Linked DNA regions of Homo sapiens: region 2 is linked to region 1. Evidence: promoter capture Hi-C in human tissues and cell types (Jung and others, 2019). All regions are on one chromosome and are shown on one strand. Each heading gives the region's core, a stretch centred on a gene start or on the middle of the fragment in contact. The rest is flanking DNA. Distances are from core to core; before and after follow the strand shown.

Region 1 (6,259 bases), core at 2,794-5,293:
CTGACCATCTCTTTCCCTAGCACATAAGCATATCTATCATATCAGTCATATACTGGCCTCTCCTCCTAGTTATTCACCCTCTAGCTGTTTATGCCTCTGAGTCCTGTCTTTACATCTCTACTGTGGTTTCCTTAAGGAATGGTAGATCTTTTCCTTCTTCTGGGTTCCCCATAGTTCACTGGATTTCTCATAAATGGCTGCTGAAGTCTGCTCCTGGCAAAGAGATGTAACTCGTAAGGAAATTATCACAAAAGAATGTAAATTACCTGAGCAAGTTCTTACCTTGTTTCACCACCAAGAGTTCTGTATGTGCTTTTATAAAACCCTTCAAAGCCATCACCTAACTTGGCTTGGAAGTCCATAGCCACATAGTATTTCAGGTGAGGCGTAAGTTTCTCTGGAACCAGCAGTGCAATTTGTTCATGAGCAGGGTAACTCAAAACTTTCAGTTCTTTTCCTGGTTTCATGTATCTTGAATCTTCCTCTGACTGAAGGGTGGCATTCGTGATTTCAAGATCTTTGCTGTGCAAGATGATAAACTGGGTAGCATTGCTGACCAAGACTTCGATCTTCTCAGATGCAACAAAGTCCAGAGAGGTGAGATTGGGGTGGACAAAGAGGTCATAATGGAGAGGAATGACCACACTGGGGAGCCTTAGCTCCTGCCAAGGAAATCGTTCCCCATTAGTGGCTACTGGGAAAGCCCCAGGATCCTCAGTGAAGTGATAACTAGATGGCACTGAGAACTGAGAACAAATGCATATTTGGGGCAAGATGGCTGTTAAGCAGTAAAATCCTCTGTGAATGTTAAACATTGGTTTTCTGTGTGAATTAACCATTGCAGAAGAATGGAACATGAAATCTATTCTCTAGAAGACAAGTTAATATCCAGGCTAATCTCGTAGTTCTTCATGGCACTGCACTGGCTCCAGTTATGTCACATGGGGTCTGAACAATATTTTCAATACATGAATTTAATCTAGAAGAAAAAAACACACTTATAGCATGACAAAAAAGATTTCAATTTACAAATAAAATCTTAAACATGTAAAAAGGTATGTGTGAGTAAGGGAAAATCTGCTCTCTGTCAGAATTAGGCCAAGTATCCACAAAATAGAGCAGAAATTAAGCTGTTATCTGGTTATTACAAATAAAAACCCTTTAGGACTCCCCCAAAAAACCCTACCTTAAAATTGAATGTAATGAATTTCTTCTGAATTCTTGTGCAGCGAGCAGAAGGCAGGTGTGTAAATTCATTGCATGTTGAATGTTTTTAACATTTGGTTATATTTTAAATTTTTGTTTATTTATTTATGTTTTAGACAGGGTCTTGCTCTGTTGCCCAGGCAGGAGTAGAGTGTGCAATCATGATCACAGCTCACTGCAGCCTCAACTTCCTGGGCTCAAGTGATCCTCCCACCTCAGCCTCCAGAGTAGCTGGGACTACAGACACACACCGCCACACTCGGCTACCTTTTTTGTAGAGATGGGGGTCTCCCTGTTACCCAGGCTGGTCTCAAACTCCTAAACTCAAGCAATCCTCCCAAACTGTTGGGATTACAAGCGTGAGCCACTGTGACCAGCCTACTTTATTTTTATTCATTTATTTATGTTTTTGAGACGGAATCTCGCTGTTGTCCAGGTTGGAATGCAGTGGCACTATCTTGGCTCACTGCAACCTCTGCCTCTGGGGTTCAAGTGATTCTTCTCCCTCAGCCTCCCGAGTAGCTGGGATTACAGGTATGTGCCACCACACCCAGCTAATTTTTGTATTTTTAGTAGAGACGGGGTTTCACCATGTTGGCCTGGCTAGTCTCGAACTCCTGACCTCAGGTGATCCACTTGCCTCAGCCTCCCAAAGTGCTGAGATCACAGGCGTGGGTCACTGCGCCTGGCCATATTTTATTTTTTTTGAAAGACAATGTGTCACCATGTTGCCCAGGCTGGCCTCAAATTCCTGGGGTCAAGCAATCCTGATGTCTCAGCCTCCCAATTAGCTGGAACCACAGGCACACATGTAATTTTAAGTGTATGCCTGAAAGTAAACTGTGCAAGATGTCTCTATTTTGTCTTCATAAGTCACAAAGAATATTCTATATATATATTCTATATTCTTTGGATACCAGATATTATTATTACTACGAATGGCATTGAACTTCACCTCTTTCAATAACATTATCTGAATGGCCTCATTTTATGGCTACTGGTGTAAAGGTTGCTGGTCAAGGTAGGTATTTATCCCCAGTTTATTTTCAATATGTCAAAAGCCATGGAAATAAATTTTGAGTTTATAATATTCTTACAGAATTTTTTTAAGGTTCGGTTCTTTTCCCTTTACACTACTTTTGAAAGCACAATTAAATCAAACTGAATTTACTACCTTTGTAAATAGAACTAAGTTTCTTTCTTTTTGAAGGGTAAAGCTACAACACATATAAAATTAGGACAAACAGCATAGTTAATTTGGGGGAATCAATTCTTACTGCCACCCTACCACCTGCCTCTACTTACTTCCTTACTGCTCCAACTCAAACCATGAAGGTTTTCTCTGCTACTTCTTCTTTTTATAATCCTTAACAAGTTCTGCAGCATTAATTATCCAAACAATTACTTCAATTTTTCAATTTGCAATATTAATGCAGGTGACAGGTATTGTTAAAGGAACAAAAATAAAATAATATTAAAGATACTTCTCCCTCTTTTTAAAAACAAGCATTAAATTACTGCTACAAATCTCAGTGTTCCAAGAACGTCTGATAAGTACACTCATAATTGGTCTATTAGCTTGAATTTTGGAGGGTTTAAAAAAAATGGAGTGGCTTATTATGTGGGTCTGAGGCTTTGGAATCAGAGTGCCCAGATTCCAACGCTAATTCCACCAACCTCACCTACGTGATCATGGGCAAAGTTTTTTACTTTTTGAGCTTCATTTATCTCAACCATAAAACAGTGTAATAATTATACCTTCCTCATGCTGGGATGATTAAATGAAATAATTCATGTGAAGAAGTTGGCACAGCACAGCATGGAGCATATAGGAAGTAAGTAATTAGTGTTGGATATGAAATTATTATTGAGGTTATAACTTGCATTCAATGGCCAAAATGAAGGAGTAGCTCGCCCCCACTTGTAGCAGACACTCCTAGAGATGTACTTGATTGATAAGAGTAGAGAGAAAAGCTTTACTCACACAGTCTTTAACTTTAGAACTAGTAAGGGTTGTAAAGGCCAGCTAGTACAAGTCCTTAGTGTTCAGATAAAGAAACAGGACCGGGCACAGTGACTCAGGTCTGTAATGCCAGCATTTTGGGAGGCCAAGGTGGGCAGATCACCTGAGGTCAGGAATTCGAGACCAGCCTCACCAACATGGTGAAACCCTACCTCTACTAAAAATACAAAAATTAGCCGGGCATGGTGGCACATGCCCGTAGTCCTAGCTACTCGGGAGGCTGAGGCACGAGAATCGCTTGAACCAGGGAGGTGGAAGTTGCAGTGAGCCGAGATCGTGCTGCTGCACTCCAGCCTGGGCGACAGAGCGAGGCTCTCTCTCAAAATAAATAAATAAATAAATACATAAATTAAATTAAATAAACAGATGAAGGAACAGGATGGTGACTTCTCAAAATCCACACAGGAAGTCTGAAACAGAATCAGGACTAAAACATAGCTCTTTGCCCTTTGGTCTGGTGGGCTTTCTATTATACTGCACTGTACCTTAAATAGCAATGCAGTGAACAAAACATCCTGGGATTGAAGAGGCAAGAATTGTCACAAACGCTTAGAAAAGACAAAAAGATCTCTGAAAGAGAGTCAGTGCAGCAGCGTCTTAGATCAAGTCCCAGCCTCAACTGCATACACTTTCTAATACAGCCGCGCCCAATTCACCCCAGTCCCCCAGAACCTTGCCTTAGATTACAAAACCTTCTCAACACAGCAGTTCTATACCTTCAGTTCATTATTCTTATTGAAAAAATCTAATTTTAAGACAAACCCAAGAGAAATGTTGATACGTTACCTTAAATCATGCTGCTGCAGATTTGACTGAAGGGGAATTTACTTTTGCTTTCACTTTCTGTTCTAAGATTCAGAACTTTGCATGCTTCCTGAGTACAGTAAGTACTAGCTGGTTCATTATCACGCAGGTGTGAATGGAGCTTAGGATAAGAGCTTTATTTCAAAAAGGACAAGAAACTTTTTGTAGAATGCACAAATAAGTGGCTTTGGAGTAGAAGCCAAACCATGGAAAGAAAGGATCGCCAGTGGCTGCCACTTCTGCTGTTATCACCTCCCTTCCCTTGTCCCCAGGGTAAAGCCTTCAGAACATAGTTTATGTTTTTTAGTGCCAAGTTGTTGTCTTAGGAATTGATCTTGAACTTCTCCTTGTGCTGCATCCTCAGTGCTATGAAATCTGACTTCTGCCCATCCACCCCACAAACGTAACTCCAAGCTTACCAAACACCTCCCGGGCAGCTTCTGTGATCTTTATCAGAGGTGATTATTCTCAGATTTTCCATGTCTGTAACCACCCTGTCTCCTTGGGCACGAGGGGACTGTATCTCATGCTCATCTCTTTGATCTCTCTTTATCTGCCTGTTTGAGTTGGGCTTCAACTTCCTCTCTGCTCTGAATACAGACCTTCCACAAAGATGAAACCTCTGGCCTTTGCTCTGCCCTCTCTTTATCCTTTCCAGTACCCAGATTTAGCATTTATCCCCATTCATCCCACATTGCTCCCATTGTGATCCCTCCTTCAAGGGTTCTGCTGCTGTAATTCCAACAGCCTGATGGACCAACAGTACATGGATGTCTAACCCTAACCTGAACCAGAACCCTGACAACTCAAATAGTGTTTTCTTTCCCCAGATAAACACCCTTTGCTTTATATGCTTCCAGCCTTCTTCCATTATCTAGGATTGAACCATATAGTTAGTTACTTTGATTCTGTCCCTCTCCAATTTGTTACCAAAGCCTGTTGATTTTTCCTTTTCTTTTCTTTTTTTTTTTTTTGAGATAGGGTCTCACTCTGTCACCCAGGTTGGAGTGCAGTGGTGCCATCCCAGCTCACTGCAGCCTTGACTTCCTGAGCTCAAATGATCCTCCCACCTCAGCCTCCCAAGTAGCTGGGGCTACAGGCATCCACCACTACACCCAGCTAATTTATTATTTTTTTTTTATAGATGAGGTCTTCCCATGTTGCTCAGGCTGGTCTCAAACTCCTAGGCTCAAGTGATCCTTCTGCCTCAGCCTCCCAAAGGATTGGGATTACAGGCATGAGACACCGCAACTGGCCTTTTTGAATCATTTTCAATCTCTTTCTATCCAACTAAGAAAAAATCCCACCGCTTATTAAAGTAGTCCAGGTCCTCATCCTTCCTCACAATGGCCTTCAATCATGTCTTCCCAGCTTCTCAAGCTCAGCTTCTTGCAGTTACTTGTACGATGCCACCAGATTAATCCTTTCAACTACTGCTCGACCATGCCTCCCCCACTGCTCAAGATCTTTCCTTGATTTCCCCATTTACAGAGGGGCAAGTCCTAGTGTGGGAACCATAGTGGCCTACTGGCAGCCTATATGCCAGCCTATAGTTGTTTTGTTTGAATCACAGTCTATTAAATGGCAATACATCCATACAATTTCTATTGTCAAGTGAAATATAACAAGCTTAGCTCTTATCATGTTGCAGACACTCTTCATAGACTTGTATCATGTGCCTTGTCCTGCTGTGGTTTGTGTTTGCAACCTATGTTTGGCCCAATAGCACATGTTGCCATGATTAGATCCTAGTTAAGTCTCAAGCTTTAATTTTTCCACCTTTCTACATTTTATTATTTCAACCTGAAAGAACAAGTCGATAAAGTAGAAGGGGCAGAAAGGAAGGCAGTAGCCTACACCTAAGGCCCGAAACATAAGACTGAATGGGGTCCCTCAGAGCTGCATTTCATGTAGTGAGAGGGGCACCACAGGAAGGGGGATGGCTGGAAGCCAGTGAGTGGGAAAAAGAAGGGGACAAAGACGACAAAGAAGAGGAGGCCCCAAGGGCTTATCTACGGACTCTAACTCTGCAGGGCGTGGGGGCAGGTAGAAGAGGTATAGGAGGCTGGGAGTATTTCTGTGATATTCCTTGTCACAAGATCCAGCCTAGCTGTGGGTATGTGGGCGAGTGCATGTGTGTTTTCAGAGCTCTCTCCTGCCCACTGGAACAGAAGTGGTGATGGAGAATGAAGAAACAGGCTATGGAATTGAGCTGCAGAATCCTAG
Region 2 (6,073 bases), core at 2,871-5,370, 42 kb after region 1:
GACAGGAGGCAGGAAATTCTGGGCAGAAGAGGGCAGGTTCGCTGCGAGGACCCCACCCTTAAGCCTGGAACCACGGCCCAAAGTGAGAACATGCATTCCCGTTTTCCCGCTCAAATGTTGCCTTTCCCAAAACCACCCATGGCCCACCCCACCCCCCATCCCTGTGCCCATTAAAGCCCCAAGCTCCACCAGCAGAGAGAGAAGAAGAGGAGAAGAGGAGAAGCAGTGGGATGTCAGAGACTACAGTTGGACATTGGAGATAAGCAGGTTGACTTCAGAGGGACGGCTTGATGGCGTAGTTTCAGAGAGGGATGGCGGGACTCTGGGGAAAGCTTATCTTCCTGCTCTGTCCCCCTTTCAGCTCCCCTTCACGCTGAGAGCCACTTTCACCAGCAATAAAATCCCCCGCATTTACCATCTTTAATTTGTTCATGTGACCTCATTCCTCCCGAATGCCAGACAAGAACTCTGGCACAGGTGCGAAAGGCTGTCACACTGACCCTCCACTGAGCTGTTAACACTTAAGCCGTCCACTGACAGCAAAGCTAAAAGAGCACTGACTGTAACATTCCTTCTGGGGCTTCAGGAGTTGCAGGTACCTCCCTAGACGCTGCCATGGCACCTACAGAGTTTTGCTCCTGGTGGCGCCCAAAGGCACTCGCCTCGGCTCCTGCACCACCCACCTGCGCTCCCCGTCCCACGAGGGGTAGAACGCAGTGGGTTTGAGTGAGTGGAATTCACCCTGGCTGAAGCTCCTGCCTGGGTCCAGCGCCCGTGCACTCCAGTTCCCGCCCACGAAGGGGTCGGGGAAATTTCCTGCTTCATTAACATATAACTACTGACCTAATGTAGGTTTGTTTGCTGTTGTGTTCTGTACAATAACTTTGAAAAACTATGTACCCTTCCAACACTTAAAAATGTTATCTCTGTATCTAAATTTCAAATATCTAAAAGTTTTATACATTTAATAGTTGTAAATGATATAATTCCTGGCATATCATAAATATTGACATTTAAAACTCATACTACATTTTAAAGTGTGTCCAGTGGAATGTGACTATCATGAGGAATTGATGCCTACATATCTACACTAAAAAGATGAACATGTTCTTTTTTAAATAGTTAGAAGTTCCTCCTTCCTCTCCAATTCATTTTCTCTCCCAAATTTTAGCCTAATATATTTTGATTGAAAGTCCTTATGACATCATAATTTTTTGAAACAGAAATATGTATGAAAATTGAAATATAAATAAAAATTTAATTTTCAGTGACCTCAAGGCTTAACTATTTAAAAAATCTTCTGATTTGCATTATCATTATAATTTTTATTGATACCCAATTAATCAAAACAAGGTAAGTACATTACACATTTTGATACATTATTTAACATGACGTATCTTTTAAGGAGAAGAATGAGGCCTGCTTTTCAATGGATGCATCCACATATGGCTCTTTATTGCTAGAATAAGTTGGGATTCAGCATCAGTTTTATTCCTATTTTAAATTATTTTTATGTAAGTGCTAAGGAATCTTATTTATATTAGTTGGTGGTTGGGGATGAAATGAGTTTTGTTTTAGCAATGTCACTCAATTATTTGAACTCCTTGCCACTAATATGCCAAAAATCACATAGTGACCTATCATCAAAAAGTATTTTTAATGATCTACTAGTTAGGTCTCCCTTTAATTTTGTTAAAACCAAAGATGTGGACCAGGCGTGGTGGCTCACGCCTGTAATCCCAGCACTTTGGGAGGCTGAAGTGGGGGGATCACTTGAGGTCAGGAGTTCGAGACCAGCCTGGCCAACATGGTGAAACCCTGTCTCTACTAAAAATACAAAAATTAGCTAGGTGTGGTGGCTCAGGCCTGTAGTCCCAGCTACTTGGGAGGCTGAGGCAGAAGAACTGCTTGAATCCAGGACGTAGAGGTTGCAGTGAGCCCAGATTGCACCACTGCACTCCAGTCTGGGTGACAGAGTGAGACTCTGTCTTGAAAACAAACAAACAAAAAACAGAAAAAAAAAAAAAAAAAAAACCAAAGAGGTGGAAAATCCCTGAAATGTAAAAGGATTTGTTTTCCGGTCATTGAAGGCATTCATTTTTTCAATACCAGAAATATTATTTCACATTTCTCTCTGACTCATGCAGGTTTCTCATCTCAGAAATTGTATCATAGTAGTATTAACCATGGAGAGAAGTTGTTCCTTCTTTTGTCAAGTGAAAGCAAAGGTGAAACGGAGGTCCCATATAACCTTAAAACCACAAGAGTGTTCTCAGATCATGTTTGGATAGAGTATGCCTGCAGTTGAAATTCAGGAAATTGATGCCCTGTTAGAACCACCTGTCTGCCTGGGTGTCCCTTGGAAAGCCTCTGTGGTTTCCCAGAGGTCCAACCCCTCCTTTTGAAGACCCTGCTCCAGTTGATAAAGTTTGTAGTACCTACTAAGTAGGATGGGCCTTTCCGACTTGTGAGCCTTCGTACTGCTGGCTTTTTGAAGGATTTATTCATGTTTGTACAACTGTAAATTTGTTATGATAGTACAGTAAAACATGGTTATACAGAAGGAAAACACACTGTAAACTTAGACTTAAAATCAAACACATAGAGGTATTATTAATATACAACAAAACAATCAGCAATAATTGTTTTAAAAAGCACCTGGAATTTTTTTTAACATCATTTCGTACAAATAAACTTCCCTACATGTAAGGATGTTCTACTTTGTTGTTTTTAAAAAGATATATGACAGAAAATCCTGACAACAGGGTTGGAATTTGAGACCAGCATCTGAGCTTCTACCTGGTCTTCATTTGTGTATTTTAAGATCCTTGTAGCAATTCATGTGGCTTAAAGGAGCAGTGTCTTGTCCTCAATCAAGTTCTTGTCAGGAACTTGACAGGTCCCTGAAGATCTCACCATGTGGCAAGGATCACTCAAACTCCAAAGAAGTTCTAAAGCAGCTTTGGTCATAACCAGCTCGACAACTCCAATTATCCTTTTAGCCTTCTAGGACAGTCAACAGCAGAGTTTTGTCTTTCTCAAGAAATATCATAATTTTATCTTAAGCCACAGACAGTGTCATGGTGTTACCTTCTTTACTGTGAAAGCAAACTTCTCAGCCACTAGTACACGCCTAACAGCCCCTTAGTATTCTTTGAAATGTGGAAAGGGACAGCACACAACAAATACTAAAGGCCCTCATCCTGGTGGTTCTCAGTCGGTTGTGTGCCTAAGAATCATGTGGGTGTTTCTTTAAAATGTAAATTTACAGTCCCCAAATCAGATTTTGATTCAATGGGTCTAAAAAACTGCCTATTACTGGGTAAGTATTATGCAGTGTTTCTTTGTGTAACAAAAAATTACATAGAAATGAATCCTCATTAGATGATTTATACAGTAGAGGTTAAACACCATGCAATTATGATTTAGTAATAACAGTGAAATAGAAATGTTATTCCTTCCCACAGCATCAAACACTTCCAGTGATAACATTCACAGGTTTATTGTGTATGTTTCTTCATTGAAGAAACTCAGCAAATTGCACTACCATTTATTTGGATTGATTTTATTTTGATTGAGTTCTCAAATCTTTTTTTATTCTTCCAGTAGTTCATTTTACTGTGAACTAGACCACAGGTAAAAGTTTTGTCTCAGTATAAGTTCACATACATCAAACTCAGGACTCCACTTACCATATCACAACTTAGCAGTTAACTTTAAGTTCCTCAAATTGGATATGATCTGATCACTGTGTTGAACTCACAGAAGAAATGAACATTAATAATAGGCCCATTGTGCACAATGCTCTTTATGGTCGGGGTTATTATTCTATACTGAAGATTAGAAAACTGAGACTGGAAAGCTTGACAAACTCTAACAAATAGTAAGTGGGAGAGCTGGAATAGGACCCCTTCTGCTGAATGCAGACTCATGAGTTGAGAAGGTTGACAAGTACACACATACCTTGGCAAGAAGGAAATTAATTTGTTGGAGAAGGAGATTCTTGTGGCAGAGAGAGGTATTTAAAAACATTTTTCTTTACTGAAAGCTTTAACTAACTGCGGAAGTCACTGAATTACTGAGGAACTAAATATCTGATGATGCTAACAAATTAAGGCTACCGCTTTCTCATTCTGTGAAGCTATATCTACCATTTTAAGTGTCAGTTTTTCATTTCAACTAGTTGTGGCTACCCAATTAGCAACTTTACTTCAACTGGCATGCATTTTGGTACAATCAGCAATGGATCATTACTACTACATTAATAAGTTGGGAGTATTCAATTTTTTTAATGAATACAAAGACAAAGATACGTGGACAGGAAAATCAGAAGACACATGGAGGGCTGAACCTGAAGGAAAGAAAATCCTGTCAGAATTCACATGCTATCTTCTTTTTCTTTTCTTTTTTTTTTTTTTCCGAGCCTTGCTCTGTCGCCAGGCTGGAGTGCAGTGGTGCAATCTTGGTTCACTGCAACCTCCGCCTCCCGGGTTCAAGCGATTCCCCTGCCTCAGCCTCCCAAGTAGCTGGGATTACAGGCACGCACCACCATGCTCGGCTAATTGCTATTTTTTTACACAAGGTGAGGTCAGGAACCATGTGACTAAATTCTATTTATTTTCATGTCTTCCCACTCCCTAAAATAGTGATCTGTATATAGGAGAACCTCAATGAACCAACATTTTGAATTGACTTTATGATTGAGAATATATATGTCCTTCAAAATAGTTCATTTTTATCTTGACACCATTTTGATCACCAATATAACCACATACAAAAAACCCTTTTGATATCAGTAAACAAACATACATTTCCAAAAATAACCTGTTGAGAAATATTTATATGATCAAAGCACAGAAGGTGTAATGAACATCTTTTACTCATGAAGCTCAAGACCCCATCCACTGGAGAAGCATAATGGAACACAAAGAGATTTGCAGCTGGACAACAGCAATCCTAAAGTGTCACCTTTGGCAGATTGAATAATGTAATTAATAATTTCAGTTTCTGTCTAAATATTGGTCTCCAAATTTATCAGCTATCTCAGTTTAGGCTGCTGTAACAAAGTAGCGTATTTTGGGTGGCTTATAAAAAACAGAAATTTATTTCTCACAGTTCTGGAGGCTAAAAGTTCAAAATTAAGGCATCAGCATGGCTGAGACCTCTTCCAGGTTGTAGACTGATGAATTCTTGTATCCTCAGGTGGCAGAAAGAGAGCAGGATTACTCCCCGGGATCCCTTTTATATGGGCACTAATTTCATTCACGATGGCTCCACCTTCATGACCTAATTAGTCTCAAAGGCCCCATCTTCTAATATCATCACATTGGGTGCTAAATTTTATCACATAAATTTTCAGGAGACACAAACATTCAGTCCATGACATCAGCCCAAAGGGATCATGAATGCAATTCAAGCAGTGTGGAAGAACATCGATAAAATCGAAGATATTTGTAGCATCACTGTCTCTTTGTACGTACAATGATATCTGCTACTTATAGCACATTTTCAGAGACTTAAATACATTTTACAAATCCTGTTCATGTTTATAAAGATGATTAAATATTTTCAAGGATAAAAGTCATAAAATAACACAAGCTGGAAGGGGCCCAGAAAGAATTTTTTCAAATCCTTTAATTTTATGCATTCCTCATTTCAAAGGAAGACTTTAAAGACATTTGTGGAAAAATCTGAATGTGTAGTTCTTCTATATTTTTACAACTTTTCTCAGTCTTTTGCAGCTATTATATATACCCCCAATTCCACTCAATTTAATCAAGACTTTCCAAAATATTCGACTTGGTGTTCATAGGTGCAACATTCTATTCTACCCATTGATTTAATAACATTTTATTAACTTAAGTAACTACCTAAAGAATACAACTGGCAAGTCAGGTTTGGAACAAATGTAACTGCCTCCTGGCCAGCATTCATCTCAGGGGACAGAAGTTCTATCATACACCAGGAGCAAAGTTTGCTTTGATACCAGTCAATATGTTTTACAGAGTGAATAGAGAGCTTCCGTTAATATAGTGAGTCTGTTTCTGTACCTAATTATTGTAAAATTGGTATG

Evidence for each region. The method cuts DNA at HindIII sites, captures the fragments that hold promoters and counts their contacts. A contact is called where the count stands out against the background at its distance.
Region 2: a contact is called between a fragment that was not itself captured here and the fragment with the promoter of ERAP2 in region 1, in 1 of the 25 tissues and cell types used here (heart left ventricle).

What each region holds. Positions count from the first base shown.
Region 1 is chr5:96,874,284-96,880,542 of GRCh38, reverse strand. It overlaps ERAP2 (endoplasmic reticulum aminopeptidase 2), which reads right to left and starts at 4,043. Exons shown (of 19, transcript NM_022350.5): 1 at 4,016-4,043; 2 at 283-979. The coding sequence starts at 857. It also overlaps a transcript of ERAP1 not described here. RefSeq lists enhancers at 3,145-3,354, 3,725-3,934, 4,105-4,254, 4,275-4,404. The HindIII fragment of the contact is 2,321 bases long and covers 3,815-6,135 here.
Region 2 is chr5:96,832,138-96,838,210 of GRCh38, reverse strand. It overlaps a transcript of ERAP1 not described here. Among named protein-coding and RNA genes, the nearest start is that of ERAP1, 27 kb to the right of the region's middle. RefSeq lists enhancers at 184-683, 684-1,185 and a silencer at 2,183-2,232. The HindIII fragment of the contact is 4,045 bases long and covers 2,098-6,073 here.